Regions from separate parts of the Homo sapiens genome. Here regions 1, 2, 3, 5 and 6 are each linked to region 4. The links are contacts of gene promoters, found by promoter capture Hi-C in blood cells and fetal thymus (Javierre and others, 2016). All regions are on one chromosome and are shown on one strand. The core of a region is centred on a gene start or on the middle of the fragment in contact, and the rest is flanking DNA. Distances in the headings are between cores, read along the strand shown.

Region 1 (4,537 bases), core at 972-3,471, 1.5 Mb after region 4:
CGACTAATGATATCAAGCTGCTTTTCATGTGCTGATTTGGCCATTTGTATATCTTCTTTGGGAAAATTTCTGTTCAGATCTTTTGCACATTTTAAAATTCGGTTGGCTTTTTGTTGTAATAGTTGTTTATTATTCTAGATACAAATCTCTTGTCAGATACATGATTTACAAAAATTTTCTCCTGTGGGTTGTCTTCACTTTCTTGATGGTGTCTCTTGAAGCACAAAAGTTTTTAATTTTTATGATTTCCGGTTCATCTAATTTTTCTTTTCTTGTTTGTGTTTTGGTGTTATATTGTGTATATCATAAATTCTTGTTTATTATAAACATTTAAAAAATATCTCTGATCTCTGTGAAGGCCCAGGCAAACAAGATACCATTATTTAATGAAAAATAACTGAAGCTACTAATGTGTATTTGGAGTTATAATCCACCTACCTCAGGCCTTCCCTTTATTCTGTGTCCATATCCTTCAGTTTGTAGTGACAGATGAAAGAAGCAAAGATGAAAATCGAGAAATAATTTTGAGTGAAACATTTTAATTTGAAGCACAGTTGTCCCTTGGTATCGATGGGGAATTGGTTCCAGGACCCCTTCAGGTACCAAATCCACGGATGCTTGAGTCCCTTATATAAAGTGGTATAGTATTTGCATGTAATCGACAAATATCCTCCCATATACTTTAAATCATCTCTAGATTACTTATAATACCTTATACAGTGCCTGCCCATCACTTGACTCTTATGGGTTCAGCATAGGAGTCAGCATGCAGCAAATTCAAGCTTTACTTCTGGGACTTGGGGATTTTTTTCCCCCAAATATCTTTGATCTGCAGTTGGTTGAATCCACAGATGCTGAATCTTTGGATACAGAGGCCCAGTTGTAACTATGATCCAAGAATTTGTTATTTATTATGAGAGAATTTATTATAATGACTGCGATGGTAGTTTATAACTTATAAACTCTACCATATTTGGGAAATTCACAGTTACAAACATTTACCTATGAAGGGGGAGTGAGTAGTCATTCCTTCATTTTTTACAAATAAGCTGAGTCGTGGAGAATTTAAGTGATGTGTGTAGAAACTCACAGTAAGTAAGGCGTAGTCTTCATCACTCTTGTAGTACTGCATTATCTCTTTGTAAAGTTTTCAGGGTTTCTGTTTTATTAATGGTTATTAATTTTATTTATTTATTTATTTATTTATTTTTGAGATGGAGTCTGTCACCAGGCTGAAGTGCAGTGGTGCTATCTTGGCTCACTGCAGCCTCTGCCTCCTGGGTTCAAGTGATTCTCCTGCCTCAGCCTACCGAGTAACTGGGACTACAGGTGCATGCCACCACACCCAGCTAATTTTTTTGTATTTTTAGTAGAGACAGGGTTTCACCATGTTGGTCAGGATGGTATCGATTTCTTGACCTTGTGATCTGCCCACCTCAGCCTCCCAGAGTGCTGGGGATTACAGGCGTGAGCCACGGCGCCCAGCCAAAATTTGTTTTTTTGTTTGTTTGTTTGTTTTTTGAGACGAGGTCTCGCTGTGTTGTGCAGGCTGGAGTGCAGTGGCACCATCTCAGCTCACTGCAAGCTCTGCCTCCTGGGTTCATGCCATTCTCCTGCTTCAGCCTCCTGAGTAGCTGGGACTACAGGGGCCCGCCACCACGCCTGGCTAATTTTTTGTATTTTTAGTAGAGACAGAGTTTCACTGTGGTCTCGATCTTCTGACCTCATGATCTGCCCGCCTTGGCCTCCCAAAGTGCTGGGATTACAGGCGTGAGCCACTGCCCGGCCAAAATTTTTCTTTTTAAGCAATATTAGTTTAGGCTTGTAAGTAGCTCACTTAGGGTAAATATTCTAGCCAAGATCATGAAAAAATACATTGATTTCATTATGTTCTTAATCAGATCTGCATCAGATTACCATAAATAGGCAGCTATTCTTTCTTTTTTTCCACAGTTCATTGTATTCCTACCATTTCCAAATAGAAGTTTATGGTTTTAAATTACTGATGTTAAGTACTTGTTTGGAAGGAATTTATAGTTAAACTAGTTATAATAATTTATACCTGTCAAGCTCTTTCATATATAGTACATATTTTATCTCTCATTAGTTTCTGTAAGCTCTTGAGAGAAAGGTTCTTTTTTATTTCCACCTTTTAAGTTCAGGGGTACATGTGCAGGATGTGCAGGTTTGTTACATAGGTAATCGTGTGCCATGGTGGTTTGCTGCACACATCATCCCATCACCCAGGTATTAAGCCCAGCATTCACCAGCTGTTCTTCCTGATGCTCTTCCTCCTCCCACCCCCAACCCTCTGACAGGCCCCAGTGTGTGTTGTCCCCCCAACCACCGATGTGTCCATGTGTTCTCATCATGTACCTCCCACTTACAAATGAGAACATGCGGTATTTGGTTTTCTGTTCCTGTATTAGTTTGCTGAGGATAAAGGCCTCCAGCTCCATCTATGTTCATGCAAAGGACATGATCTTGTTCTTTATGGCTGCATAGTATTTCATGGTGTGTATGTACCACATTTTCTTTAGTCTGTCATTGATGGGCATTTAGGTTGATTGCATGTCTTCGCTATTGTGAATAGTGCTGCAGTTAACATATGCGTGCATGTATTGTTATAATAGAATGATTTATATTCCTTTGGGTATATATCCAGTAAGGGGATTGCTGGGTCAAATGGTATTTCTGCCTCTAGGTTTTTGAGGTATTGCCACACTGTCTTCCACAATGGTTGAACTAACACCACCAACAATGTAGAAGCATTCCAGAGAAAGGTTCTTTTATTTTTGTTTTGTTTTGTTCGAGACAGTCTCACTCTGTTGCCCAGACTGGAGTGCAGTGGCATGATCTCGGCTCACTGCAACCTCTGTCTCCTGGGTTCAAGTGATTCTCCTGCCTCAGCCTCCTGAGTAGCTGGGACTCCAGTCATGTGCCACCATGCCCGGCTAATTTTTGTATTTTTAGTAGAGATGAGGTTTCACTATGTTGGCCAGCTGGTCACGAACTTCTCACCTCAAGTGATCCACCCGCCTTGGCCTCCCAAAGTGCTGGGATTACAGACGTGAGCCACTCCGCCTGGCCTAATTCCAGAGAAAGGTTCTTATATGTTTTATGCTATAGTCCCATAGTATGGGACTACTACTATGTAGTAATTTTCAGTTCTGCTGAAAATGCTGTAGTCGTTACTACGTAGTAGGCGCAGAATATTTGTTTAATGAGTGATTCTCTATTAAAGGGTCATAAATTTGAAAGGTAAAGGTTAAGAACAATTTCTCTTTAGAGTTGTACAGATTAAAGGAAGTGAACTTTTTTTTTTTTTTTTTGTGAGATGGAGTTTCGCTCTTTCTGCCCAGGCTAGAGTGCAATGGCGCAATCTCGGCTCACTGCAACCTCTGCCTCCTAGGTTCAAGCGATTCTCCTGCCTCAGCCTCCCGAGTAGCTGGGATTACAGGCGTGCGCCACCACGCCTGGCTAATTTTGTATTTTTTTAGTAGAGACAAGGTTTCTCCATGTTGGCCAGGCTGGTCTTGAACTCCCGACCTCAGGTGATCTGCCCGCCTTGGCCTCCCAAAGTCTTGGGATTACAGGCATGAGCCACCGCACCTGGCCAAACATATTTTTCTTTAACTGAGGAAATTAGATTCATTGTCCAAAGCTTAAAAGGAAGATTTTCTACTTTGAGTTTTTATTAACTCTGATACTTTACTATGACAGTACTTCCAGCCTCTGAGACATGAGAAATAGCGTGAGATTGTAGTAATCAAAATGACCTTACCAGAAATCACCACCAGGTTGGTGAAAAACAGTACATCTACACAGAAGGATGGACTTGATGTTGATTCTTTCAAGATTAAAGATGAAGATGCCCGAACTTGAAGCAAGTCTTTTATCAAAACCGTACATAAAGCAAAACACACTGTATGATACTGTAATGGTGGACACATATCATTACGCATTTATCTGTAGAATGTGCAACACCAAGAGTGAACCGTAAGATTAAAAAAGAAACAACAACAATAGGCTGGGCGCAGTGGCTCATGCTGGTAATCCCAACACTTTGAGAGGCTGAGGTGGGCGGATCACCTGAGGTCAGGAGTTTGAGACCAGCCTGGCCAACGTTGTGAAACCCCATCTCTACTAAAAATAAAAAAATTAGCTGGCTGTGGTGGCGGGTGCCTGTAATCCCAGCTACTTGGGAGACTGAGGCAAGAGAACCGCTTGAACCTGGGAAGCGGAGGTTGCAGTGAGCTGAGATCATGCCACTCACTGCATTCCAGCTTGGGGGACAGTGAGACCCTATATCAAAAAAAAAACAAAAAACAACAAAAACAAATCAAAGCCTGTACATAAAGTATGTACTGTTGCCTGCATGCCATTTGTCAGTTTTAAAGATTAACCATGGTCAGTTTTTAAATGTAGTCCAGTATATCCTTGGTACCTTTGAGTTCTTGGGCTTTTTCCTTTGCTGTTTGACTAGTAAGCAAAATGTAATAAAAGTAATTAGCATATTGCATAATAGTCCACATAG
Region 2 (4,584 bases), core at 504-3,003, 1.6 Mb after region 4:
CCTTGGTGATAGTGAGGCCCAGAGCTAGTGGCCTCCTGATGTCCCCTTTTCAGTCTCAAGATGTTTGCTCCTGGAAATGTCCAGCTTAATTAGATAGGCACCACTGCCTATCATTTCTTTTTTTAGATAGAGTCTTGCTCTATCGCCCAGGCTGGAGTGCAGTGGCACGATAATTGCTTACTGCAGCCTTGACCTCCAGGGCTCAAGCTATCCTCCACCTCAGCCTCTCCAAGTGCTGGCATTACAGGTGTGGGCCACCGTGCCCAGCCCTACCTATCTTTTTTTTTTGAGACAGAGTCTTGTTCTGTCGCCAGGCTGGAGTGCAGTGGTGCAATCTCGGCTCACTGCAACCTCTGCCTCCCAGGTTCGAGCAATTCCCCTGCCTCAGCCTCCCGAGTAGCTGGGACTACAGGCACGCACCACCATGCCTGGCTTAATTTTTTATATTTTAGTGGAGACAGGGTTTCACCATGTTGGCCAGGATGGTCTCGATCTCCTGACCTCATGATTCGCCCACCTCGGCCTCCCGAAGTGCTGGGATTACGGGCATGAGTGCTAGGATTACAGGTGTGAGTCACCGCATCCAGCCCCTACCTGTCTTTTTAGTGTCACCTTTCTTCTGTGGTCAAGTGAGCAGATGGGCCCAAGAACCTGGGCTCTTACTAATGGCATTTTTTGTTTTTTATTGTTATTTTTTCCAATTCACGTGCCCTGAGTTTGATCCCTTGTTTTTGTTGAATAACTGTCAAAAGCAGCCTGGAGTGGAAGGACAAGTGTATGTAGATGGAGTTGATTGGCCTTGGGGTGGGCAGTTTGGGGGAGGATGTGGAGAGACTTTGAGCAGAAGGAAGCAAAAAAAGTACATACACCCTGTATTAGTCAGGGTTCTCTAAAGGGACACGACTAATAGGATAAATGAATATGTGAAGGGGAGTTTATTAGGAGAATTGACTCACATGATCACAAGGTGAAGTCCCATAATTGGCTGTCTGCAAGCTGAGGAGCCAGGAAGCCACTCCAAGTCCCAAAACCTCAAAAGTAGGGAAGCCAATAATGCAGCCTTCAGTCTGTAGCCGAAAGCCCGAGAGCCCCTGGCAAACCACTGGTGTAAGTCCAAGAGTCCAAAAGCTGAAGGACTCAGAGTCTGATATTCAAAGGCAAGAAGCATCCAGCACGGGAGAAAGATGGAAGCTAAAAGACTCAGCCAGTCTGCTCTTTCCGTGCCTGCTTTTATGCTGGCAGCTGATTAGATGGTGCCCACACAAATTGAGGGTTTGTCTGCCTCTCCCAGCCCACTGACTCAAACGTTAATCTCCTTTGGCAACACCCTCACAGACACACCCAGGAACAATACTTTGCATCCTCCAATCCAATCAAGTTGACACTCAATATTAACCATCACACATCCTTAAAGGAAGCTATTGATGCAGGCTCCTTCCGTAAGAGAAGACCCCTGAGTATCATAAAAGGGGTCTTGAGACTTATCTCAAAGTCTCCCAAGAGGAGCATGCTGGTCAAAGTTTGGTCCAACTCTGAGCTGTGTTATTTCCCACAAAGCCATTACCACTGAGTTGATGGACATTTCCAAACTGGGCAGAGCACTCATGACTTTTCTCCCAAACCTGACTGGCAAAAATTGTCCACTTCCCTGAAATTTTGTTTGCAGATATCAGAGGAGGGTTACATTTCTGCATTCCCTAAGGGGAAGCCAGGAATGTGGGAGTTGGGGTTGGGGAGGGGAGAGTGAATGAGCGCTGGAATCCTGGCAGATGGCAGTTGCTAACCAGGGAGCCAGAAAGGCTTGAGGATGAGGAGCCTGGTGTGCAACACAGGGACAGGGAACAGAAGTAGGAAGGGAAAGGAAGAGCAACCAGTTGACTTTAAAGAGGGGAAGAGAGGTCCCATTGAATCACCCTGCAGAGAGGACTCATGAAAAAATCAGGCTGGTTTCAAATGATGGCTTATCCAGTTTATCAGATTGGGAAGTAGGATGGCCAAGTGGGATAGCAGGGGTACAAAGAGGGATTTGGACTTGGGGTCAATGCCTTAGAAGCGCTTCTTTCTGTCTTGCCCCAAACCTTCAAACTGTGCTACTAAATAATTAATATGAAGGTTACAAACTTTTTGATATACGTAGTCTGGGCTTCATGCAGGAGCCAAGGAGCCCCTATAAAATACGTCAGGTTCAGTGGCTCTCCAGTGGCTTCCCATTTCCCCCAGAATACACTCTAAAGTCCTTTCTAAAGCCTGCAGGCACTTTAGGACCTAGTGGTACCTTGCTGCCTCTTCTAACCACATCTTCCATTCTCCTCCAACCCCTCTTCCAGGCACCTGGGCCCTTGGCTTTCCTCTAGGGCTCCACTTTTGGGCTGTTCCCCAGATACCCATAGAGCTTGTACCCTCTCACTTCATCCAGGCTGCTTTCTATGCCCCTTGTTAGTCTGCTTGGGCTGCCATAACAGAGTACCACAGATGGGTGACTTAAAAAACAAATTTATTTTCTCACAGTTCTGGAAGCTAGAAGTCTGCCATCAAGGTGCTGGCAGGATTGGGTTCTTCTGAGGGCCGTGAGGAAGGGATCTGTTCCGGGCCTCTCTCCTTGGCTTGTAGATGACCATTCCCTCCCTGTGTCTTCACACTGCCTTCCCTCCATATGACTATGTCCAAACTTCCTCTTCTTCTTCTTCTTTTTTTCTTTTTTTTTTTTTTTGAGAGAGAGTCTTGCACTGTCACCCAGGCTGGAGTGCAATGGTGCGATCTCGGCTCACTGCAACCTGTGCCTCCTGGGTTCAAGCGATTCTCCTCCCTCACCCTCCCAAGTAGCTGGGATTAGATGCACCTGCCACCACACCCAGCTAATTTTTTGTATTTTTAGCAGAGACAGGTTTTCACCATGTTGGCCAGGCTGGTCTCAAACTCCTGACCTTGTGATTCTCCCGCCTAGGCCTCCCAAAGTGCTGGGATTACAGGCATGAGCCACCAAGCCTGGCACAAACTTCCTCTTCTTTTTTTTTTTTTCTTTGAGACAGAGTTTCACTCTGTCACCCAGGCTACAGCGCAGTGGCACGATCTCGGCTCACTGCAAGCTCCACCTCCTGGGTTCATGCCATTCTCCTGCCTCAGCCTCCCGAGTAGCTGGGACTACAAGCGCCCGCCACTGCGCCCGGCTAATTTTTTGTGCTTTTAATAGAGACGAGGTTTCACCGTGTTAGCCAGGATGGTCTCGATCTCCTGACCTCGTGATTCACCCACCTCGGCCTCCCAAAGTGTTGGGATTACAGGCATGAGCCACCGCACCCAGCCACCTTCCTCTTCTTATAGGGACACCACACACCATTACTGAATTAGGAACTGCCCTAATGATACCATTTTAACTGTATTACCTCTGAAAAATCCTGTCTCCAAATATGGTCACGTTCTGAGGTACTGGGAGTTAGGACTTCAACATGTAAATTTTGGGGGGTAGAGGGGGAGGCAAAATTCAGATTATAACAGCCCCTTATTGATTGGAGAAGACTCCCCAACCATTCTTTATAAAATAGTGCCCTTATTAACCGAATATATTTATTCATTCAGTTTTTCTTTTCTTTTTTTTCTTTTTTTTTTTTTTTTTTGAGATAGAGTTGCACTCTTGTTGCCCAGGCTTGAGTGCAATGGGCAATGGTGCAATCTTGGCTCACTGAACCTCCGCCTCCCGGGTTCAAGGGATTCTCCTGCCTCAGCCTTCCAAGTAGCTGGGATTACAGGTATGCTCCACCATGCCCGGCTAATTTTGTTTTTGTTTTTGGGTTGTTTTTTTTTTTTTTTTGAGACAGAGTTTTGCTCTTGTTGCCCAGGCTGAAGTGCAATGGTGTGATCTCTGCTCACAGCAACCTTCGCCTCCCGGGTTCAAGCGATTCTCTTGCCTCAGCCTCCCGAGTAGCTGGGATTACAGGCATGTGCCACCACACCCAGCTAATTTTGTATTTTTAGTAGAAACGGGGTTTCTCCATGTTGGTCAGGCTGGTCTTGAACTCCCGACCTCAAGTGATCCACCCACCTCGGGCTCGCGAAGTGCTGGGATTACAGGCATGAGCCACCGCACCCGGCCTCATTTAGTTTTTTTGAAGGTCTCCTTCTACTTAAATGTCAACCCCAGAGTGCCAACTTCTTTATGAACTGATGTATCTCCAGTACCTAGCTCCCTGCCTGGACAGTAACAGGCCCTCGATAAATGTTCAGGAATGGATGAACACATAGGAAGCCATTACAAATCACTCCACAAAAAAGTAATGACAGAGAAAGATGTTCAAGGTATATTGTCAAGTGAAGAAAGCAAATTACAAAAGCCTCCTGGGTAGCGTTGTTTCACTTTAAAATCATGTACATATTATTTATTTGTATTCAAATAAAGCTTAGAGGCTGGGCACGGTGGCTCATGCCTGATATTCCAGCACTTTGGGATGCTGAGGTGGGCGGATCACCTGAGGTCAGGAGTTCAAGACCAGCATGACCAACATGGTGAAACCCCATCTCTACTAAAAATACAAAATTAGCTGGGTGTGGTGCTGCATGCCTGTAATCCCAGCCACTTGGGAGGCTGAG
Region 3 (4,240 bases), core at 452-2,951, 1.9 Mb after region 4:
TTTCAACTACTTTCTCCTCCTATTACATACCTGATTCACAAAAATAAGCAGACAATGCATCATGTAATCTCCCCTCACCCATTAGCCATTGCAGTGTGGTACAATCTCCAGCACGTAATAAAAACCTGAGCATGCAAGAAACAGCAAAATCACTGCTATCCCTGGGAGCTGCTCGGATATTTACAATGCAGTCGTCCCCACCCCATCCCCCAAACTGGCCGGCCAGGCAGCACAGAAGCAGACGGATGCTCACCTGGGCCCCGGCTGCTACTCTCCATTCACCTGCGGGGCCTTCAGTCCGCTCCTGGAGGGGCTTGACTCCCGCAGCCTGCCGCCCGCCTCACGGTGACAGCCCGCCCGGGCGCTGACCATCCCGGCCCGGCTCTGTTTACAAGCGGCTTCTCGCGGTCCCACTCTGAAATGCTTCCGCCGGCGGCCCGGGCAGCCAGAGCCGGACACACAAGGTTCCAGGCCGCGAGGACGAGTCTTTCCTGCCCGAGGGACCCGGCAGCTAGGCAAGGCCTGACCGCACCCGCCAGGCCTCCTTATTTCTTTGCTTTCTTATATACAGTTCCTCTTGTACACATTGTGAAAGCAATGGCGTGTGTCGTGGAGTCTCCTCACTGCTCCACCCAACGCCAAAATGGGTGTTTGCGATTGGAAAATGTCACTTAGAACATGTCAGGATCGGGCTGGTTTTTAGCAGCTCCCTTGTCTAAGGGAATTAATTACTCAAATAAGTTCTTTCCAAAAGTGGGACTATTCTGGAGATTGCTTCTCATTTCCGGTTTTGGGGCTGCAGTGAAAATCCGTTTTCACTGTCCTTTCCTACGCAGGTTGAAAAGGGGTGGTTTTGAGGTGAGGTCTTCACCCCCACTTGCGGATTCCCAGCAAAATAGGGTGTGCGTGTGTGTGCACGCGGGCAGGACTGCCTGGTAAGACCGCCCACATCCCACCTGCAGTGACTGTGGTCGCTTTGCAGGGATATGCTGGTCTGATTGGACAGACCTTCCTTGCAGTTTCCTGTCTGTTTTCCATCATAGCACACTTCTTAGCCATTTTCTCACTTTATAAGTACACACTTATTTATCAGTTTTATTGGTTTTCCCACGCTCACCCATCTCACCTATAAACTCCCTGAGGGCAGGCACTATTTCAGTTTCACTCACCACCATCTAGTAGGCACCTAGCACAGGCCCAATGTATATATATCTGAATAAATGAATGAACAAAGGAATGATAAAAAAAAAAAAAGGTCAAAGGGGTCAGGGATGAAACAGAAATCTAAAACTCTGATTCCTCTTCCCACCTTCCCACCCTCCAGAAGATTAATAAGCAAATCTTTAAGCTTTGAGTTAAGAAAAAATTTCCTTTGGTTGATATTCAAAGTTTAAATAAGCTTTCTTTAAACCCTGCAATTTGAGGTACTTTTTTTTCTGTTTTGCTAGAGACAGGATCTCACTCTGTGCCCCGGCCAGAGTGCAGTCGCACGATCATAGCTCACTGCAGCCCTGAACTCCTGGGTTCAAGGGATCCCCCCAACTCAGCCTCCTGAGTAGCTAGGACTACAGGCACGCATCACCACAACGTGGCTAACTTCTTTTTTCTTTCTTTCTCTTTTTTTTTTTTTTGTAAAGGCAAGGTCTCCCTGTGTTGCCCAGGATGATCCTGAACTCCTGGCCTCAGGCAATCCTTCTTCCTTGCCTTCCAAAGTGCTGGGATTACAGGTGTGAGCCACCTCACCTGGCCAGAGGTACATTTTTTGTTTTGTTTTGTTTTAATTACCAAAAGAGAATATTTGCAGTATTCTCTTTTGCCTCAGGACTTTGTACATGTGATTCCCTCTGATGAGAGTTCTCACTCCTGGCCCATCCTCTTACTTAGGCTGGCTAATTTCTCTTTGCTCTTTAAGAAGCAGGTAACAGGTGCTTGGTCTCTCAAGTCACTTGCTTGGTCTTCTTCCAAGTGTTCTTTTCTTCTTTTCCTTCCCTTCATTACTACTCTAAAGCTTTTTAATAAACTTTCACTCTAAAAAAAAAAAAAAAAAAGGCCGGGTGTGGTAGCTCGTGCCTGTAATCCACGCACTTAGGGAGGCCAAGGCGGGTGGATCGCTGGAGGCCAGCGGTTCGAGACCAGACTGACCAACATGATAAAACCTCATCTCTACTAAAAATACAAAAATTAGCAGAGCATGGCGGTGCACGCCTGTAATCCCAGCACTTTGGGAGGTCGAGGCGGGTGGATTGATTGAGGCCAGCAGTTCGAGACCAGCCTGGGCAACATAGTGAAACCCTGTCTCTACTAAAACGAAAATTAGCCAGGCATGGTGGCACACGACCTGTAATCCCAGCTACTTAGGAGGCTGAGGCACTAGAATCGTTTGGACTCAGGAGACGCAGGTTGCAGTGAGCTGATATTGAGCCAGTGCACTCCAGCCTGTGCAAAAGAGCGAGACGCTGTCTCAAAAAAAAAAAAAAAGCAGATGACATCACACCTCTTCTGGAAACCTTGCCTGATAGGGGAACCTGCTCCTTTTATGCACTCCTAGAGGATCTCATGTGTTCCTTTATAAATGTACCCATTACATTGTGCTACACAGATCAGTCTTCCATTGGATTGGTGGTTCTCAAAATTCACATGGAACAGAATCTTCTAGGATGGTGTTTCTCAAACTTTAACGGGTAAGAATTCTGTCAAAATGCAGAATCTGATACAGTAAGTCTGGGATGGGGCCTCTCCAACAGTCATGATCTCCTAAGTGATGCTGCATTTTGAGTGTCAAGGTTCTTGAATGCTGTTAAAAATGCAGATTCCTAGGCCGGGTGTGGTGGCTCATGCCTGTAATCCCAGTACTTTGGGAGGCTGAGGCGGCCGGATCACCTGAGGTCAGGAGTTTGAGACCAGCCTGGCCAACATGGCGAAACACTGTCTCTACGAAAAATACAAAAAATTACCCGGATGTGGTGGCTGGTGCCTGTAGTCCAAGCTACTTGGGAGGCTGAGGCAGGAGAATTGCTTGAACCCAGGAGGCAAAGGTTGCAGTGAGCCGAGATCATGCCATTGCACTCCAGCCTGGGCGACAGAGTGAGACTCCATCTCAAAAAAAAAAACAAAAACAAAAACAAAAAACAAAAAAACCCCCGCAGATTCCTGGATCACACATTCACAGATTTTTATTCTGAAGATCTACCTACATTAGGGTCCTGAATTCCATAATTTCTACAAGGTCCTCAGTGCTTCCCAAGTTGGTGATCCATGGACCATCCTTTGAGAAAAACTCTTTCAGACTAGTCTTGAAGTCTGATGTCAGGAGTTTGTGATTTGTCATTGTTTTTCATGGATTAAGCATGAAGTCTGGGACATAAAATGCATTTAAAAAACTGCTTTTGGCCTGGCACAGTGGCTTACGCCTGAAATTCCAGCACTTTGGGAGGCCAAGGCAGGCGGATCCCTTGAGGACAGGAGTTCAAGACCAGCCTGGCCAACATGACAAAACTCTGTCTCTACTAAAAAATACAAAAATTAGCCGGGTGTCATGGCACACATCTGTAATCCCAGCTACTCGGAGGCTGAGGCAGAGAATCACTTGAACCTGGGAGGCGGAGGCTGCAGTGAGCTGAGATCATGCCACTGCACTCCAGCCTGGGAGATAGAGCAAGACTCCATCTCAAAAAAAAAAAAAAAACAAAAAAAGCTGTGTTTGCAAAATGACTGATTTTATTCACTCTCACTAATACAGATCCTCAGCACCAGAATTAAGGGGATGATCCCAGAAAAAGGCTGAAAGATTTAGGGCTGAGAATAATCTCAGCTAGGCAGCCACTGGCTCATGGACCTCTGTATGTCAGCTAGGAGCTCTATATGTCAGCTAGGCCTCTGTATGTCAGCTAGGAACATTTTGCCTCTCTAAATGTAAAATATTTAAGTTCATATCTCCATTCAAAAGGTTGTCTGCTAAAAGCAGCTCCATCATCTTCTTTTGCCTTTTTTTTCTTTTTTTGAGATGGAGTCTGGCTCTGTTGCCCAGGCTGGAGTACAGTGGCGCAATCTCGGCTCACTGCAACCTCCGCCTCCTGGGTTCAAGTGATTCTCCTGCCTCAGCCTCCTGAGTAGCTGGGACTACAAGCATTTGCCACCACACCCAGCTAATTTTTGTATTTTTAGTAGAGACGGGGTTTCACTATGTTGGCCAGGATGGTCTCCATCTCTTGACCTTGTGATCTGCCCGCCTTGGTCTCCC
Region 4 (4,427 bases), core at 483-2,982:
ACTGATCCTTAAACTGTAGACCTTGTTTCGGGAGCTGCCCTGCCCACTTCCTCTCCCTCCTCCCAATCCCGGAGGCTTCCAAGCCATCTGACAACCACGTCTCCCCCTTGGGATCTGTTCCGGTGTTGGTTTTACCGGACAGTGACCAAAAAGGAGGGGAAACTCCTACATCTGGGGACTGCTCCAGAAACCCTGCCTGATCCTGCCCCTCTCACTGACAGTCTCCTCGCTGCTCCCTACATCTTCCTCTCCGCCGGAGCTGTCCAGAAGGGGGATTTTGGACCCAAAGGAATCGGGATGAAAGGGGGTGGGTACTCAAGCTGAAAATAACACCCCCAGTTGGTGGGGTAAGGGCTAAAAAAGGCAATAGGGAAAGATTGTCCGGCAGAAACACCACCTGAGTTTACCTCCTCCTTCCCACCCCAAAAACCCAGTCACTAACTAATAAAGCTAAGAAAAGCCCCTTGCAAACTTTTCCAAACCGGAAGAGAAGGCCCTCTCCCCAACCTGGGGGGCTCTAGGGGGAAGGGGCTGGAGTTAGCAGCCCCGAATGGGCTCGCGGGGAGTTGGGTGGGGCGCGGGCGAGGGGTGCAGGGGCGGAGTACCTTCTTCAATGGACAGGAACTGGCAAAGAGTTTCAAAATAGCCGAGTGCGCTCCCCCACGCCCTGGGGGGTCCCGGGCGCTAGGACCAGGGCTCCCCGGAGAGACAGCGGCCCCCAGTTCGGGCCTAAAAGGAAACTTTCTGGGCCGCGGCTGCACCTGACTCCTCACCGCCCCTCCACCCGACCCCACGCCCGCCAGGCCGCCCGCCCCGCCCCGCCCCGGCCTGGCCGTCCGGAGCGCGGAGGAGGGGGATAAATAAATTCAACTCTTACCGGAATCTGGGGGCCGTCTGCGAGAGACCCGGGGGAAGGGGAGCCGGGCGCCCATTCCCCACTCCCCACTCCTAGGCCCTGACGCCCCTGTCCCGGCAGCCCGGGCCTGCCGCCCCGCGGGAAAGCCTCCGGGCCGGCGCGGGATTCGGCCCAGCAGCGCCGCCGTCCCACCCGGAGACCCCGGGGGACTCGAGGGGGCGCGCGGAGGCCCGGGGTGCGGGGGCAGGGCGCGGCTGCCGTGGGGCCTACCGGCCCGAGGCCTACCGGCGCCCCCCCCTCCCGCCGCACACCCCCACCTGGCCCGCGCAGGCCGCTCCGCTCGCCCCACTCCGGCTCCGGCTGGACCCCTGCCCGCCCGCCGTCGCCGCCCGCGGGCGCCCCGGAGGCCCTCAGGCCCCCGGCCTCCACCACCCGGGCGCCGGCCCCACTCACCCTTTCATTCTCCGCCCGGGGCCTGGCGTGGGCCGGCGAATCCCCGGCCTCACGTAAGCGCGCTCGCCGCCCGCCCAGCCTGCGCGGCCCAGCCCGCCGCCCTACGGGAGCCCGGGGATGTGGGCCGGGCCTGGGGCCGCCTCTGCTTACCTTTCAGCTGCTTTTTTTTTTCTCCTTCCCCCCTGTTCCCTCGGCTGGGCTGACAGATCAGAGTGAGAGGCGCTGGCAATGGACTAGGAAGCTCGGCTGCCGCTGCTACTGCTCCCCCCTGGGCTCCGGCGAGAGCCTTTCCCTGTCAAGCAAGAGGGGTGAGGATCATATTTTTATTTTGGAAACTAAAAAGTGCTCCCAGGGTCGGTGATTATTAAGGGGAAATCCCTGAATATACTCTCCAGCCAAGAAGGCAGGGCTGCCGGGGCTGTACAAGAAGAGGCAGCAGCCTCCTACAGCACCACTACAGGCACTGCGAGGACATAACACCAGAGAGCTGCTCCTCTGCCCTCCGAAACGACAACTTTCCTACCATCTTGGAGGCAGAGCAAAGGGGGGCCAGGGGGAAAAGTGCACCCGCTCCCGATAAAGTACAAATTTTTACTTCTCATCTCTGGAAAAAAGTCCACACCGGCCGTCTACACCCGCGCCTGGGGGAGAAAGCAGGGAAGAAACGGGGGGTGCATGAGAAACGTTTTCATTTGCTCCAGGGGGAAAAATGTTTCTGCATCTTCTGATGGAAAGAAATCTTTACAAGACACAGGTTTTCCGGTGGTTATTGTTTTTTATTTTCTGTTTTTAATTTTTTTCATGTTAGTGACAGTGATATTTTAATATTTTTTTAAGCCAGTAATAATTTTTCTCCATTACAGGGCTAAGTTCTGTGGCTGGTGGTCAGTTTGTAAATTTATACTTAAAGAGACTTAATAGTAACTTCATTTATTTGTCTGGTTATGTTATTGTATATATAAATATTTATGTTTTCATATATTGCATATAAAAATTTGTGTTACATGTTACTCTCAGAACAGATTGCTGTAAGACAATTGTAAAAAAACATGTCTTTCGTCTGTTTCTCAAAGCAATGTAAATAAAACCTATGGACTGTCCAGAAAGGCATGATACAGTGTGTCATTTTCCACAGTGCAGATAAAGGCAGCTATCACTGGGGATTTAAAAACGGCCCCTGTTTCTGGAAATTCTGTTATGCTGCCCATACAGAAAGGATACAGTAAAACTGGAAAGAGATTTTAAAGACAGCCTTAGATTTTTCTTGAGGTAAAATAGCTTATTAAGAATTATATCCGGGCATTTAATTTTTTTATTTATTTAGATTCTTTAAACTCTAGCTAGATCTTTGGTGCATTACACATGTTGCTATCTGCTTTTTGTGTCACAGAATTGAGAAATGTGGCTATTTTTGTTAGTTATGTTAGTTCAGAACTTCCAATGTGCTGCCAGCCTGTATGATAGACTTTTTGTATATTGCAGTGGATGTCATGAATTTACTTTTTTAAATGAGCAAAGCTTACTAGATAAATGGGATCAGAGTTAAACAATGCTGTTAGCACAGAGGTGAGAGGGACAAAGGGTACCCATTTACATCGATTCCAATAGAACGCTTATTGGAGGATAAATTGCAGAGACATTTTTCTATTTTTGTGAAGAAAGAGAAAAATAATAGAAAAAGAACCGACTATCTTTGTATGTTCTACTGGGGATGATGATTTAAATCTTGTATTAAAAGTTATTTTTCTAACACATGTTGACTAACCTGGCAGGAATGAATTTGTTATATTAGTGCCCTGAATCAGTAGAATATTTAATTTCTTTGTAAAATTTATTACACAACATTTAGAAATAACTTCCAAATTTAGAAATTGTCCTGATTTAAAAGTGAGTTCATGTAATGCATATATCGGATATTTATTAGTTTCTAGCTGAACCTTATCTTTATCATATAACTTTGAATATAGTACTTACCTAAATATTCTGGATTTTCTTTTTTTTTTTTTTTTTTTTTTTGAGACGGAGTCTTGCTCTTTCGCCCAGGCTGGAGTGCAGTGGCCCGATCTCAGCTCACTGCAAGCTCCGCCTCCTGGGTTCACGCCATTCTCCTGCCTCAGCCTCCCGAGTAGCTGGGACTACAGGCGCCCGCCACCACGCCCGGCTAATTTTTTCTATTTTTAGTAGAGACGGGGTTTCACTGTGTTAGCTAGGATGGTCTGGATCTCCTGACCTCGTGATCCGCCCGCCTCGGCCTCCCAAAGTGCTGGGATTACAGGTGTGAGCCACCGCGCCCGGCCTATTCTGGATTTTCTTCTGTGGTTTTCTTCCTCTTTGTTTGGTGGAAAAAGTTAAGTAAAATTAACTGATTCTCATCATCTTGGAAACCTCAATTGTGAAGCTATGTTCTATTTACAATATTTTTTTTAAACATTTAGACATCAAACACATTAGTTATCACAAGGAAAATCCCTTAACTAGACCTCTGGCGAAATTGAAAAACATGTTTTCTAACAACTTATTTTTCTTTATATATGACATGACTTTATAGATATGTTTTGAATTTTTCAAGAAATTAAAATGTGATCAGATTCCATGGCTTATGTCTGTGATCCCAGCACTTTGGAAGGCCTAGGTGAGAGTATTGCTTAAGCCCAGGAGTTTGAGACCAGCCTGGGCAACACAGCCAGACCCTTTCTCCAAAAACAAAAATTAAAATAAAATGTGCTTGTTTGCATTAAGCTGGCTGCACCCTTTTTTGCAATGCCCCTTGTGACCAAAGGAACTTGTCTGTCAGTGGATAGGGCTATGCTGCATCAGCTTAGCATTTCAGTGCTTTTCTCTTTATAAAGTTTGACTTCTGCTTAGCTATAGTCTATGATATTTATCCATCAATTGAGCAAAATATTCAAGACTTGAGGCCAGGCACAGTGGCTCACGCCTGTAATCCCAGCACTTTGGGAGGCAGAGGTGGGTGGATCAACTGAGGTCAGGAGTTTGAGACCAGCCTGGCCAACATGGTGAAACCCTGTCTCTACTAAAAATACAAAAATTAGCTGGGTGTGGTGGCAGATGCCTGTAATCCCAGCTACTCTGGAGGCTGAGGCGGGAGAATCACTTC
Region 5 (4,381 bases), core at 275-2,774, 1.4 Mb after region 4:
GCAAATTCTTATTCTCCTACTGAATGAAAAACTGGGGATGAGGGCCAGTCATCTGTATTTCAACAAGTCTTGCCGGTGATTCCGATGCACGCCATAGCGTGAGAACCAGTATAGCAATAAAACCTCTGATGTTTAGCTGGTAAACATGGCCACCTGGACAAAGAGACTAGGTAAGGTGGCTGCATAAGGCCCCTTGACTAAGTTCTGTCAAAACAGAAACAACAAAAAGTAAAATAAAAAGTTCTGTCAAAACAGCAAAAAGTAAACAGAAATGTGAAAAGGGGAGTTATCTTCTCTGACTCCTCCTGCTTCATGATGGCTGGAATTCAGATGTGATAGCTGGATCCCCAGAAATAGTCTTAGACAAGAGATGATGCTGAGAAATTAATCCACGCACAGCAGAGCAACAAAGTGGAAGGGGTATGGGACCCTGGCACTGTGGAGCTGCCATATTAGCTCTGAACTGACTCCCTGATTTCCTGAACAGAAAATTTCTACCTTGTTTAAGCCTGTTATTCTGTTTTCTATCTCTATAATATCCTAATGCATGATCTTAATAAAGTTAGTCCCCTTTCCCCTCACCTACTAAGATGTTCTTTAATATAAGAATATTTTCTTTATTGTCACAAGTTATCTTGCAGATTATTTCTTTAGTTGTTTGACTCTCTTCCTATTGGTCTGGAAGCTCTATGAAAGCAGTTACATTTTCTTTATTATTGAATCCCCAGCATCTAATACACACTATCCTCACAATATTTACTGAATGGAAGATGGAAGGATGGATGTAGGCAAACCAAATTTTGTCCGTTTTTGGCACTGATAAATTGACTATGCTTCAAAATAAATCTTTTAAATACTAAATTTTCAACAAAACTATCCCCTGCCCATATCCTAGCTTTGTTCCACATTTAATCTGAATATGAAGCAATAATATCAGTAACAAACACTTTTAGAAGCTTTAAAATGTGCCAAAGACAAATTCCAATACAGGAGCAACCTACAATATACCTGACCAGTCCTCCTCAAACTGTCAAGGTCATCAGAAATAGGAAAGTCTGAGAAACTGACACAGCCAAGGGAGCCTAAGGAGACATGACAACTAAATATAACACAGTATCCTGGGATGGATTCTGGAACAGAAAAGGACACTAGGCAAAAACTAAGAAACTCTCAATAAACTATGGACTTTAGTTCAAAACAATACTCTATCAATATTGCTTCATTAATTATAACAAATGTACCATACTAATGTCAGATGTCAGCAATAGAGGAAACTTTGGGTAGGGTGGGGTGGGGAGGTTACATGGGAACTCTCTATATTATCTGCTTGCTTTTTCTGCAAGTCCAAAACTTTCCTTAGGGCTGGGTGCGGTGGCTCACACCTGTAATCCCAGCACTTTGGGAGGCCAGGGTGGGTGGATCACTGGAGGTCAGGAGTTCAAGACCAGCCTGGGCAACATGGTGAAAGCCTGTCTCTACTAAAAATACAAAAATTAGCCAGGCGTGGTGGCAGGTGCCTATAATCCCAGCTACTCAGGAGGCTAAGGCAGGAGAATCACTTGAACCTGGGAGGTGGAGATTGCAGTGAGCTGAGATCTTGCCACTGCTCCAGCCGGGATGACAGAGTGAGACTCCATCTCAAAAAAAAGAAAAAAAAAACTTTCCTTAAAAATAAAGTCTATTAATAAAAGACGTGTGCCAAAGACTGTTACATATATCAACTCATATTGCCTGTATTAATTCTCATAGAGACTGAGATAGATAACTATGATGAGCCCTATTTTACAAATCCAAAATGTACATTAAGTTATGTTCCCTAAAGTCCTTTAGGCTTATGCTATATGTTTCTTCTGGATCAAAATCTATTTGATTCAATTATTTAACATAATGTGTATTGCTTATTGTGTGCCAGTAAGGGACTGAGTTTAGGCAATTCTATGAGCAGAGTTAAAATTGGGAGAGCAAGGAGGCTTTGTATCAGCCCACTAAAATTTAAAGGGCACAAGCAAACATTTTCAAGAATTTTCTGTTCTGAAATGTGTTATATTTACATGTTGACAACACATATATTTCTCTAACAGGTAGAAACAACTAAGCTTGATATCTAATTATCAAGAAAAATTACTTAAATATGAAGCCACCAGATGGCACAAAGTGTTAAGAACACATAAATCATACATCATATGTTACAAAGCTGATTTAAGAGTGGGTTTGTGTCTTGTACTTATAGTGAAGGCTCTATCTCCGAATATATCCCTGGTAAAAGAACATCTCAAATGAGAAAAATCTCTAAGTCATTGCATTACTTTCCAAAGATATTCACTGTAAACCTTAACTATGATTTTGGCTTAGTGTTTTTATTATTGGCTACCCTGTTGACCAAAACAAAGATTTGGCACCTTGGCTGTTCAGACTGAAACTCCCGGCCAATGCAATTTGACCATGAAATGTTATGAGTGCTCACTATGATAACATGGTACAATTCAGGCAGATATAAGCTTTGCTGAAGAAGTATTCTACAAAGTGCATTACCCATGAGGTTTGATTTCTATACTCTGAATTGGAATCAATTGGTAATATTCAATCCAAATAGCCACCTGAAACAATACCCAAGTGCAATGGACCAAATGTTTGTGATCTCACAAAATTCATATATTGAAATCCTCATCCACAATATGATGATATTAGGAGGTGGGGCTTTGGGAGGTGATTAAATCAGGAGGGTAGAGCTTTCATGAATGGGTTAGTGCTCTTATAAGAGATCCCAGAGATGTCTCTAGGTCTCTCTTCACCATGTGAGGACATGACAAGAAGATGAGAAGATGGCCATCTGCAAGCCAGGAAGTGGGTGTTCACCCACAGAGAGAGATGCCTTGATCTTGGACTTCCCAGCTTCCAGAACTATGAGAAATAAATGTTTGTCATTTAAACCACCCAGTCTATGGTATTTTGTCATAACAGTTCAAGCCGACTAAGACACCAATGGAGCACTTTGCATCTATGATTTCATTGCTTCTCGTGGTTCCTTCATCTGCCTCACTCTATTTATCTTTAAAAGTTCTGCAGAGAGGCTGGGTGCGGTGGCTCACACCTGTAATCCCAGCACTTTGGGAGGCTGAGGCAGGCAGATCACGAGGTCAGGAGATGGAGACCATCCTGGCTAACACAGTGAAACCCCGTCTCTACTAAAAATACAAAAAATTAGCCGGGCATGGTGGCAGGCATCTGTAGTCCCAGTTACTCAGGAGGCTGAGGCAGGAGAATGGCGTGACCCCAGGAGGCAGAGCTTGCAGAGAGCCGAGATCGCACGACTGCATTCCAGCCTGGGCGACAGAGCGAGACTCCAACTCAAAAAAAAAAAAAAAAGTTCTGCTGAGAGCTGAGGTGCGCCTGTAGTCTCACCTACTTGGGAGGCTAAGGTGGGGAGGATTGCTTGAGGCCAGGAGTTCAAGGCTGTTGTATGCTATGATCACACATGTGAACAGACACTGTACCCCAGCCTGGGCAACATAGCAAGACTTCATCTCCAAAAAAGTAAAGTTCAGGGGAGGCCTCAACTCCTTCACAGTCTTTCTTAACCTGATCTGTGTGGGGTCATTTCTATATACTCCCATAGCACCTTGTGCTGACATTGCTCATAGGATTTATCACAATTCAGTACAACTCAACAAGTATTGAATGAATGCCAATGAGACATGGTTCTAGGCACTTAGGAATCATTACTGAACAAATCAAAGATGCCTACCCTTCTAAGGAAAGATAGATAATAAACTACAATACATAAATAAATGTTGTAGTATGTTATACTGATAAGTGCTATGGGAAAAAGAAACCGTGGAGTGGATTACAGGGAATGGGATGGAAGGGAGCACAGAAGAGATTCAGGTTGCAGTCTAAAATAGGGTGGCCATGGTAGGCTTCAGTGAGAACATGAGATTTCATCAAAATCTTGATGGACGTGAGGAAGTTAACTCTGTAGATCCTGGAGGAGGAGGATTCCAGGCAAAGGGAAGAGCTAAAGCAAAGATCCCTCCAGCAGGAGCATGATGATGAGATTGAGAAACTGCGAGACCAGTGAGTCTTGAGCAAAGTGCACCAGAAGCAAGGAAGAGAGGGAGAGAGGTGAAGCAGGGAGCACTAATTTTGTCAGACCTGTAGCCATTACAAAGACTTTGGCTTTTACTCTGAGCGAAATGGGGAGCTGGGAGAGCTGAGTTTTGGGTAGAGGAGAGACATTATCTGACTTAGTTTTGTAAGATTTGCTCTGGCCACTACGTTGAGAATAGAATTGTAGTGGGGCCAAGACAGAAGCAGAAAAACCTGTTAAGAGGTAATTATAGGTGAGAGATGATGATGCCTCAGGCCAGAACAGTAGCAGTAA
Region 6 (4,395 bases), core at 343-2,842, 1.5 Mb after region 4:
AAAAAAATTAGCCAGGCGTGGTGGCACTATTCAGGAGGCTGAGGTGGGAGGATCACTGGAGCCCAGGAGGTCAAGGCTGCACTTAAAAGAACAACTTTAGGCCAGGCGTGGTGGCTCACGCCTGTAATCCCAGCACTTTGGGAGGCCGAGGCAGGTGGATCATAAGGTCAAGAGATCGAGACTATCCTGGCCAACATGGTGAAACCCCGTCTCTACTAAAACTACAAAAATTAGCTGGGCATGGTGGCGCGTGCCTGTAGTCCCAGCTACTCAGGAGGCTGAGGCAGGAAAATTGCTTGAACCTAGGAGGTGGAGGTTGCAGTGAGCCGAGATCATACCACTGCACTCCAGCCTGGCAACAGAGTGAGACTCCGTCTAAAAAAAAAAAAAAAAGAAAAGAAAAGAAAAGAAAAGAACAACTTTAACTTACCACTTAAAGAACAAGTATTTTCACTTACATTACTGTCATACAATTCAGTAATTTTTCAGTGATTATATATGTATTACATAAACACATATAGATTGGCTGCTTCATAACAGCCTAAGGAGAGGTGGACTGGGATTTCTTAATAGCCAATGTCTCTCTTCTATGATTGTTTTTTTTTTCCCAAACATACAGAGAGGGTTTTGCCATGTTGTCCAGGCTGGCCTCCAACCCCTGGGCTCAAGCAATCCACCCGTCTTGGCCTCCCAAAGTGCTGGGATTACAGGCGTGAGCTACTGTACTCAGCCCTATTATTCTTTTTTAAAATTTTAACCTCACGATACAGGCTTTCCCTATTTTTGGTATTTTGTCATGTGAGCAATGAGCCATGGTCATGCCACTGCACTCCAGCCTGGGCAACAGAGCGAGACCCTATCTCTTTTAAAAAAAAAAAAATGCAGACAGCCTTTTCCAAGGTTTGAGTTAGAACTGTATCTCTGAATTTCTTAACAGTACACAGAGCACTCTGCAGGCAATATTGGAGTGACTGAGTCATCTGCACATCACCTCAGTATTCATTTTACCAGCTCATAGATAAAGGCCTTCTCTAATGCCTGTCCCAGGCATTTCAAAGGCTACTTCTAACCTGGTAGGTATTCCAGAAGTCTGAATAGGATCTTAATGTCAGTTGACCACCCCCTGTAATTCCACACATATCTGAATGACTACCATCAGCCATGGAACAGAAACCTCTCCCCTCATACAACTTACATTCAAGTGAGAGATAGGCAGTAAGACGTTTTTTAAAAAAACAGAATATCCGGCTGGGTGCGGTGACTCACGCCTGTAATCTCAGCACTTTGGGAGGCCAAGGCGGGTGGATCACCTGAGGTCAGGAGTTCGAGACCAGCCTGGCCAACATGATGAAACCCTGTCTCTACTAAAATTACAAAAAATTAGCCAGGCGTGGTGGCAGGCGCCTGTAATCCCAGCTACTCAAGAGGCTGAGGCAGGAGAATCGCTTGAACCCGGGAGGCAGAGGTTGCAGTGAAGATCGCCCTACTGCACTCCAGCCTGGGCGACAAGAGCGAAACTCCCATCTCAAAAGAAAAAATAGAGTGAAATCCAGCAGCAGCATTTCCTTCAGCCCCACTCAGCCACAGAGGCACAGACCAGGGACAGTGGAAGGCTGCAGTTAACCTGGCTTGTTTTGAAGCAAGGAAAGGCAGGGAGTCGGTGTCAACCGTACATGAAGATGGTGATAAAATGACTGCCTGTGAGATTTATGCTGGGTAAGGAGGGTGAGACAGTATTTAGTTCAGAAAAGACTAGTGGAGACTGACCCAATAGGACAACACAGTATGCTGTCCATTAGTAATGGGAAAAGAATGTATAAACATGTGTCATCAGTTTTCGTTTTAGTTTTATAACACCTTATTTATGCAAACATTCGAGCACATACTATGTGCTAGAGATACAAAGATGAGGAAGAAAGTCCTTACCCACAGCTCAAAAGTCTCATGTGGGAGAGACACATAAACACAGTTGTGATGCAGTGTGGGAAGAAAAATAATAGAAACATGAGTGTGCGCAGGAAATCATGAGGTCACAAAGGAGAAATTCTTCAAGAGGAGCAGAGGTCAAAGAAAAAATCCCAAAGGAAGGGAAATCTGAGCTTACGCTTAAAAGATGAGGCATGAACCAAGGAAAAGGTGTGAAGAAAGGGCATCCAAGGCAGATGGGACAGGCCAGAGCAGGATGTGTGTCCCAGGAACTTCATGCACTCCAATCTTGCTGAGAAAAAGTGAGGCTGAAGAGTCAGGCAGGATGCGATAACAAAGCCTTACTAAGACGCCTGGGATTTAGCCTGCAGGCAGGCAGTGGGAAGGCAAACAAGTGTTCAAGCACAGGTCATGCCATCAATTTTGCATTTCAGATGGGCCACTCTGACAGCTATTGAGAAAATAGGTTTAAAAAGACGAAACAGAGGCAGACAGGCCAGGTGGAAGAGTGATGTGATCATGCAGGCAGGTGACAGATGATGAGAGCTCAAGCCAGGCAGTGGGAGTGGACAGAGAGAGACAGATCCAGGAAATAGTTAAAAGACGGAATCAGTGGGACTCCAAGGGGTAGGGGAGGTAGACGGGGAGTCAAGGAGTTGGGTGGGGGCGGTGACTACTTAGAAGGTGATGCCAACTCAGAATAAAGGAGGAAGAACAAGTTTAGAAAGAAAAGAGTTTGGCTTTAAACAGATACCATTTGAGGTGCTGGGAAATAGCCAGGTATAGATATCCAGCTTTCAGTTAAACACACAAGCCATAAGTTCAGCTGAGATTTGCACTCGAATTACAGGAAAATCAAAGACAGTATCTTCCTCAGCATTATATTTCAAGACAGTGGTCCCCAGCCTTGGCTGGGCATCAAATCACATGGGAAACTTTTAAAATTCAGATTCCCTGACCCCATCCCAATTTACAGAATCCTCCTATCTTCAAGATGGGGTGTTTTTATTCTATGGATACAGCAGTTCCCTCTTATCTGCAAGGGATATGTTCCAAGACCCCCAGTGGATGCCTGAAACCACAGATAGTAACAAACCCTGTATATAAGATGCTTTTTCCAATATGTATATACCTATGGTAAAGTTTAATTTCTACATTATACACAGTAAGAGATAAACAATAAATAATAAAACAAGATAATTATAACAATATACCATAATAAAAGTTATGGGTGGATCACAAGGTCAGGAGTTCAAGACCAGCCTGGCCAAAATGGTGAAACCCCATCTCTATTAAAAATACAAAAAAAAATTAGCCTGGTGCAGAGGCAGGTGCCTGTAATCCCAGCTACTCAATGGGCTGAGGCAGGAGAATCGCTAGAACCCGGAGGCGGGGGCAGAGATTGAAGTGAGCCGAGATCGCACCACTGCACTCCAGCCTGGGTGACAGAGTGAGACTCCATCTCAAAAACAACAACAACAACAAAAGGTATGTGAATGTGGTCTCTCTCTCTCTCTAAAAAATATCTTATCATACTCTAGTCACCTGTTTTCAGACCAAGGCTGACAGTGGGTAACTGAAGCCAGGGAAAGTGATCACAGGTGAGGGGGGACTGCTACAGTTCCAAGTACCATAAGACCAGGGAGATTTTCAAACTAAGAACGAGGATTTGAGAGTCAGATTGGATTCAAATTCTAAGCACAATCCATTAGCTTTGTGACCTCAGGCAAGTTACTTACCCTCCAAGAAGCCTCCCTTTCACCACTGGAAGGGCGCTATAAGTAGGTAAGGCCTACTTACCATGCAGGGTGACTGTGAGAATGAAAGGGTGTAATGCACAGTCCTCAGAACACAGGAACTACTCAGGAATTAGCAGCTGGTTTTTAACAGGAAAGTCTCATCACCCTATATTAATATCTACATAGCACCGCTTTTTTTTTTTTTTTTTAATCTTCTTTCTTTACCTCTACCCACTAAACTCAGAACGTAAGCTTCCGGAGACACCTGCCAGCCTGTTTATTGCCCCATCCACAGTGGACCGCCAGGCTTCTGGTGGGTTCTCCCCAAATTCAGGAATAAATGACTAAGGTTACAAAAAGAGAATATACTTTAAAAAGAATAATAATTAATCTCTTCCTGACATTTCAAAATCACTACCTATTCTAGTACTCACTGATTCTATTTTGAAGAGACTAACATTTTCTTACCCTCAGGCTCCAACAGCAAAACTTCTCCAACCTAACACTTTGTAGTGACTACAAATAGTGAGTATGAAAATCATACAGTAGCAGAGAAATGCTTATGACATAATGTGAAAACATCATTTGTATAGGTGTGTGTATACGGATACACAAAACACACATACGCAGACATATATATTTACATATATATAATCATAATTACAACTATGATTAAAAATACAGATGGAGAGAAACAAAACATACCAAAATGCTAATGGTAACTCTGGTG

The links. The method cuts DNA at HindIII sites, captures the fragments that hold promoters and counts their contacts. A CHiCAGO score of 5 or more calls a contact.
Region 1: a fragment that was not itself captured here is called in contact with the fragment with the promoter of INO80D in region 4 in 1 of 17 cell types (neutrophils); the score reaches 7.3 in neutrophils.
Region 2: a fragment that was not itself captured here is called in contact with the fragment with the promoter of INO80D in region 4 in 2 of 17 cell types (neutrophils and monocytes); the score reaches 6.6 in neutrophils.
Region 3: a contact is called between a fragment that was not itself captured here and the fragment with the promoter of INO80D in region 4, in 2 of 17 cell types (total CD8 T cells and total CD4 T cells). The highest score is 8.8, in total CD8 T cells.
Region 5: a fragment that was not itself captured here is called in contact with the fragment with the promoter of INO80D in region 4 in 1 of 17 cell types (naive B cells); the score reaches 5.5 in naive B cells.
Region 6: a contact is called between a fragment that was not itself captured here and the fragment with the promoter of INO80D in region 4, in 1 of 17 cell types (neutrophils). The highest score is 5.2, in neutrophils.

What each region holds. Positions count from the first base shown.
Region 1 is chr2:207,542,417-207,546,953 of GRCh38, forward strand. The region is part of intron 1 of CREB1 (cAMP responsive element binding protein 1); the gene reads left to right. Among named protein-coding and RNA genes, the nearest start is that of CREB1, 15 kb to the left of the region's middle. The HindIII fragment of the contact is 2,882 bases long and covers 781-3,662 here.
Region 2 is chr2:207,695,880-207,700,463 of GRCh38, forward strand. No RefSeq gene overlaps it. Among named protein-coding and RNA genes, the nearest start is that of CCNYL1, 13 kb to the right of the region's middle. The HindIII fragment of the contact is 5,275 bases long and covers 1-4,391 here.
Region 3 is chr2:208,025,136-208,029,375 of GRCh38, forward strand. PLEKHM3 (pleckstrin homology domain containing M3) reads right to left here and starts at 392. Exons shown (of 8, transcript NM_001080475.3): 1 at 254-392. The HindIII fragment of the contact is 609 bases long and covers 1,398-2,006 here.
Region 4 is chr2:206,084,442-206,088,868 of GRCh38, forward strand. It overlaps INO80D (INO80 complex subunit D), which reads right to left and starts at 1,733. Exons shown (of 11, transcript NM_017759.5): 1 at 1,460-1,733. It overlaps INO80D-AS1 (INO80D antisense RNA 1), which reads left to right and starts at 214. Exons shown (of 2, transcript NR_186084.1): 1 at 214-307; 2 at 1,516-3,063. RefSeq lists silencers at 464-758, 660-709, 750-949, 970-1,139, 1,220-1,429 and enhancers at 1,480-1,769, 1,496-2,315, 1,820-1,869, 1,880-1,989. The HindIII fragment of the contact is 4,007 bases long and covers 1-2,825 here.
Region 5 is chr2:207,508,199-207,512,579 of GRCh38, forward strand. No RefSeq gene overlaps it. Among named protein-coding and RNA genes, the nearest start is that of CREB1, 20 kb to the right of the region's middle. The HindIII fragment of the contact is 1,140 bases long and covers 955-2,094 here.
Region 6 is chr2:207,615,317-207,619,711 of GRCh38, forward strand. All of the region lies in intron 3 of METTL21A (methyltransferase 21A, HSPA lysine), which reads right to left. Among named protein-coding and RNA genes, the nearest start is that of METTL21A, 7.9 kb to the right of the region's middle. The HindIII fragment of the contact is 4,645 bases long and covers 1-3,915 here.